Linked DNA regions of Homo sapiens: region 1 is linked to region 2. Evidence: promoter capture Hi-C in human tissues and cell types (Jung and others, 2019). All regions are on one chromosome and are shown on one strand. Each heading gives the region's core, a stretch centred on a gene start or on the middle of the fragment in contact. The rest is flanking DNA. Distances are from core to core; before and after follow the strand shown. Region 1 overlaps ADGRE5 (adhesion G protein-coupled receptor E5). Region 2 holds the start of PKN1 (protein kinase N1).

The links. The method cuts DNA at HindIII sites, captures the fragments that hold promoters and counts their contacts. A contact is called where the count stands out against the background at its distance.
Region 1: a contact is called between a fragment that was not itself captured here and the fragment with the promoter of PKN1 in region 2, in 1 of the 25 tissues and cell types used here (spleen).

The regions. Positions count from the first base shown.
Region 1 is chr19:14,393,887-14,396,641 of GRCh38, forward strand. ADGRE5 (adhesion G protein-coupled receptor E5) reads left to right here. Exons shown (of 20, transcript NM_078481.4): 5 at 2,456-2,587. Among named protein-coding and RNA genes, the nearest start is that of ADGRE5, 14 kb to the left of the region's middle. RefSeq lists an enhancer at 2,550-2,755. The HindIII fragment of the contact is 4,012 bases long and covers 1-2,755 here.
Region 2 is chr19:14,432,032-14,434,731 of GRCh38, forward strand. It overlaps PKN1 (protein kinase N1), which reads left to right and starts at 1,275. Exons shown (of 22, transcript NM_002741.5): 1 at 1,275-1,511. The coding sequence starts at 1,491. RefSeq lists enhancers at 15-294, 1,169-1,742, 1,743-2,315 and silencers at 1,025-1,364, 1,535-1,604, 1,895-2,004. The HindIII fragment of the contact is 61,187 bases long and covers 1-2,700 here.

The sequences.
Region 1 (2,755 bases), core at 229-2,728, 38 kb before region 2:
AGATCCCCCTCTCCCGGTGGATACATTTGACAAACAAAAAGTGGGCTGGTTTTCAGCCCCTGCTCATCTCATTGGCCCAATACCTGTGCAGTGAGCAACCTGCACAGCTGTACTTGGTGATCATGGTTTCCTCCCAGGGTGCTCTGGCTAGGGGTGCCGCCCACCCACTGCTATGAACCCCCTGCATGGGATGGTGGTTGTGGTTATGAAGGAGGTGTGTTGCTGTGTTAGAAACAGGCCTGGGCTGAGAGAAGGGGACTCAGTCAGGCAGCTGGGCAGAGACATGGACAGCAGGGCTGAGGTGATAAGAGGGACCTCCACGGACATCAAAGCAGGTGATGGAGCCAACAGCCTGCTGGTTTGGAGCAGGACCTATGACCAGAGGTGAGACGCTCAGAGGGGCCTGGGCCCCTCCCTTTAACCCAAGGCACTCCAGGCTTCGCTATTGCACCTGAGGACACGTGCACCCAGTGTCACAGCCCATGGGGCCTGTGACATCCAGGCCAGAGACCTCGGGCGGCTCCCTCCACTCCTCACCCCCCTGTCTCCAGGCATCTCAGGGCCATCCTAAACCCCTGATCACCCGTCTTTGTCCCAACCCTGAGACTCGGGACACTCCACAGGAGGCCACTTTGGAAGCTCGGAACATCCCCCTGCCCATCTGGCATCTTATTTGCATAAAACAAAAGGGGGCTGGCACTCAGGATATTTCATGGGCTCATGACATGGCGTGTGGTGGCGCATTCCAGTACAGTATCCATCCTCTCCGCCATCGCCGGGGACTGCCAGGATGAGACTTGCTGCCACCGGGGCTCCCATGAGCTCAGCCACACCTGGAACCCCTCTGACACCCACACCTACCATAATGAACCCCAAAACCCTGTCCAGAAACTCAGGAGGAGGGAATCTCAAGGACAGGACAACTGTCTCCAGCCAGCAGCCTTGCTTGGAGAAGATGCCTCCCGACCACCTTTCTGGCCGTTTAGCCCTCATCCATTTCCCCATCCAAGGCTCCACCCTAACCCACCCTGGTAATTCCTGGGCCTGAACGCACCGTCAATGACCAAAGCTTGGGAGGATGCTGTGGCCAGGTGTGGGCAGCGTGATGTGGACCCCACAAATGGATTCAGAGGGCTGGGTGCCGTGACTCATGCCTGGAATCCCAGCACTTTGGGAGGCCAAGGTGGAAGGATCACTTGAGGTCGGGAATTCGAGAGCAGCCTGACCAACATGGTGCAACCCTGTCTGTACTAAAAATACAAAAATTAGCCGGGCGCAGTGGCACGCACCTGTAATCCCAGCTACTCAGGAGGCTGAGGCAGGGGAATCGCTTGAACCCGGGAGGCAGAGGTCGCAGTGAGCTGAGATCACATCATTGCACTCCAGCCTGGGCAACAGAGAGAGACGCTGTCTCCAAAAAAAAAAAAAAAAAACAAAAACGCACTCAGAGGGTTGGATGAAGGAGGCGGCTCCAGCCTGGACTAGCCGGCAAGAGACAGCATCACTGGGGACCATCGTCCCAGGCCCGATCCTCTCCTGTAGTCAGTCCTGGTCTGGACCACTCAAGGACAGAGATGGAAGCTTGAACCCCATTCAGCAGGGCCCACAGGTCTCTGTCCCTGGTGGAATGACAAGGGATGAGAGGACAGATACATCTGCCACCCCTCACCCATCGGCACCTGTGCCCTCTCTAGCCACAGGCCCCCGCTCACGGCCAGTTCTGCTTAGATATGGATTCTCACCAAATCCTGCTATTTCCATATCCATAGATCCTTTCCTGGGGATCAGAAAAAAGCATCTTTGTAGACTCGGGGCTGCCTGGCTGGACATCAGCCCCCACTGTTCACCCCAGCCTGGTGCCCACTGTCCGGGCAGCCCTAGCCTGTCCCACATCATCCCGCACTCTCCCCACCCCTGCTATTGCCCTGCATCGCGGGGGCACTGGCTTAGGGAGGGGTCTTGGTCCATGCCCATGAAGCTGGGCTCTCAGAGCTAGTGTGGATGGGAGAGCAGCATCCTGCTAGGGCCACCAGGATGCTGAGAATTTGGCCAGCGAGCGGCCGTTCTGTGGGAGTCAGGCCGAGGGCCACCGTTGGGAACCAAGACGTGTCCTGCCCAGGCGCACGGCATGTCCCCTGCATTTGGTTCTCAGGAAGGCCCCACCCTGGCCTTTGCCCGGAATCCTTAGGCTGGGACACAGATGGCTGGGACACCCCAGCTTGGAGCTGCCCAGGAAGGCAGAGGAGAAGGGGAGGACTTGGCTGCTTCCAGCCACATCTGGACAACAGAAGGACTGAGCCACCACCCTCACCATAGGATGCCTCTGTGTGGATTGGAAAAGGGAGGAGACAGTGGTGCCTTCCAGATGCTTCCGTGCCAGGAAACATGGCGGACCCTCAGCCCTGAAAGCTGCTCACAGCTACGGGCATCCTTCACCCTCTCCTTCCTCTTGCAGATGTGGACGAATGTCAGCAGAACCCAAGGCTCTGTAAAAGCTACGGCACCTGCGTCAACACCCTTGGCAGCTATACCTGCCAGTGCCTGCCTGGCTTCAAGTTCATACCTGAGGATCCGAAGGTCTGCACAGGTAGAGGCCCCAGGAAGACGCCGTGAGGCTGGACGGGAGCTGGGGATGGAGCTGAGGCACGTCCTCCAAAGCAGCCGAGGAGGAGGGGGAAGATCCGCAGGTTCCCACAAGGTCAAGGACCTGCTAAGCCCCTGCCTAAGGATTCACCTCCCAGGAAGGTCCTGCCAC
Region 2 (2,700 bases), core at 25-2,524:
CCTCGGGTCCCAAAGGGCGCCAATGTGCAGGCACCGCCGCCAGGGAGCGCTCCCTGCCGGAGCCCCGGAGACCAAGGTTTGGCTCCCTCGCCTGGTTTCCGAAGGAGTGAGGGTCCGACGGCGGCCACGAACAAAGCTGCACGCTCTGCAGACCCCGGAGATCCCCTAGAAATTCCGCAGAGGCCTCCACTCTCCGCTTGGGCACGAGTCTGCATTTATGGAGCGCCATCTGCATGCAGCAGCCCCGAAAAAGAAGGCGATGCCCATTTTATAGCGGGGAAAACTGAGACTCAGAGGCCACAGGGGTCCCCAGGATGAACAGCAAGTTGGGATTCAAACCTCTTTTAATAACAATAACGATAATAGAGGCTGGGCGCGGTGGCTCAGGCCTGTGTAATCTCAGCACTTTAGGAGACCGAGGCGGGCGGATCACCTGAGATCAGGAGTTCGAGGCCAGCCTGGCCAATATGATGAAACCCCGTCTCTACTAAAAATACAAAAATTAGCCGGGTATGGTGGTGGGCACCTGTAATCCCAGCTACTCAGGAGGCTGAGGCAGAAGAATCACTTGAATCCGGGAGGCGGAGGTTGCAGTGAGCCGAGATCGCGCCACTGCACTCCAGCATGGGCAACAGAGCGAAACTCCGTCCAAAAATAGCAAAACAACAAACAAACAATTACGATAACATTAAAAGTGACAGCAGCTAACACTTATGGAGCGTCTAGTGTGTTCTCAGCTCTTGGCCTGCACTGTCTTATTGAATTTTACCAACACCGAGGAGGTGAGCGCATCATTCCCATTTCACAGATGAGGTGCCTGGAAGGGTTTGTCTCCCTCAAGGCGTAAAGCGCTAGGATTTGAATGCAGATCCGCCCAGAGCTTGTCTCCAGGTAACGGGGAAACTTCCATGCCCTTGAATAGGGGACCACAGATGCAGGCGTCCCGAGCTTGCAAATGCACCGGGGTAGGGTGGGGTGGGGGGTTATTCTGTTTGTTTTTTTCAGGGGTCCCGGGAGGCCCAAAGGCCTCCGCCGCTCTCGGCTTGAACGCGTGGAACCGTTCTCCTCGGGTTCCCGCGCGCTCCAATGGGGGACCCCTCGGCAGCGTGCGGTCGTCTCGGGACCCGGAAAGAGGAAAGGTGGGGAGCCGATGGGGATGCTCCGGGCTCGGGAGACCGAGGGGGCGGACGGGCGGGACCCCGCAGCCCCGGGGGCCTCTGGGAACCCGTCCCCCCTCGGCCCCGCCCCCTCCCCGGGCGCCGACCTCCGGGGTCACGTGACCAGGCCCGGCGGCCGCTGGGGCCGGAGGGCGCGGCGCGGGGACGCGGCGGCCTGGCCAGGCGAGGCGGGAGCCGAGCAGGCCGGAGCGGGCCGCGCGCCGGGGAGGGTCGCGCCGCGCCCGCCCCCTCCCCGCCACGCCCGGGGCGCACGCGCGCTCCTCTGGCCGCCCCTCCCTCCGCGCGGGGACCCCTGGCGGGCGGCAGGAGGACATGGCCAGCGACGCCGTGCAGGTAGGCGCACCTGCGTCTGGAGTCCCGGGGCGACCGGACGGCGCCGGCGGACCCCGCCCGCGCGCTGCCGGGGGAGCCCCCCCAGCCCCCGGAACGGGACTCGGGTGACGATGGCAAGGGCGGGGGCCTCCGGAGCGCCCGGCGCCCCCTCCCTGGGCCGGGACTGTGGAGCCAGCGAGGCCCCCTTCTCGGCAGGTGGCGATGTGGACTGGGCTGGTTTGGGGGCGATCCCGGAGGCAACCCCTGCTACACCCTCAAACTCGGCCTCTCCTGGAGAACTAGAAGGGGCGCGGCGGAGGCTCTACTTCGGGTGTCTGTGGCTGGCTGGGCGTCCCAGTGCCTCTCGTCCGCCCCCAAACTCATCCCCCTCCCCAGGGTTGGGTACCCGGCAGGTGCCGCTCCACCTGGGGCACGTGCCTGGCGCAGTGCCCTGGGAGGGGAGGAGGCTGCTGGGCCCGGCCCGTGCCCTTCCCCCGCATAACAAAGCTCCAGCCACCCCCGCCTCTAGACAGCTTTATGATGTTCCAGACGCCACCCAGATTGGCACCTGTTGGCGGAAGTACCCGAGTCACTGCATTAGGTCGGGGGAATGGGGACCCCCACTCCCACCCTTGGGCTGTCAGGTGGAACCTTCTCCTGGGTGGGGAGTGTCTCAGTCAACAGGCCAGGGATGCTCCCATATATAGAATCCTACTTTTTTGCATGGTGGCTGGGCATGGCTGGGTCACCCCCACCCTGCTAACACACACACGTGACTGGCACCAGCCTCCCGCCCAGCCAGATTCCCCTTGTGCCACCTGGTGGGGATCACTGACCTGGACTCATCTTCCCCGTCTGTGACAAGCACGGCCAGGGTGACTGCCAACCTTCTTTGGTTCAAGTGACCCAAATCTGAGAAATGTCTGTGCCTCAGTGTCCCCATTAGCACCTCACCATCCAGTTCATTGTCCTGTGGTTGTTGTGTAACTGGGTTCTCGTCTCCTTCTGCACCTGCCCCCGGCCCCTTTGTGTCTCCCCGGTAACCCCCGGTCCCTCCCGCCTTCCCAGTCCTGCTGATGGCCTGCCGGCCTTGCCGAGGAGCTGGGCGTATCTGGTGTTGCCGATCACACAAGGTCAGACCTCAAGGCCGGGATGGGCCGGGGTCCCTGCCTCTACCCCCGGCCCAGGGAGGGCTGTGTAGGAATCCCCG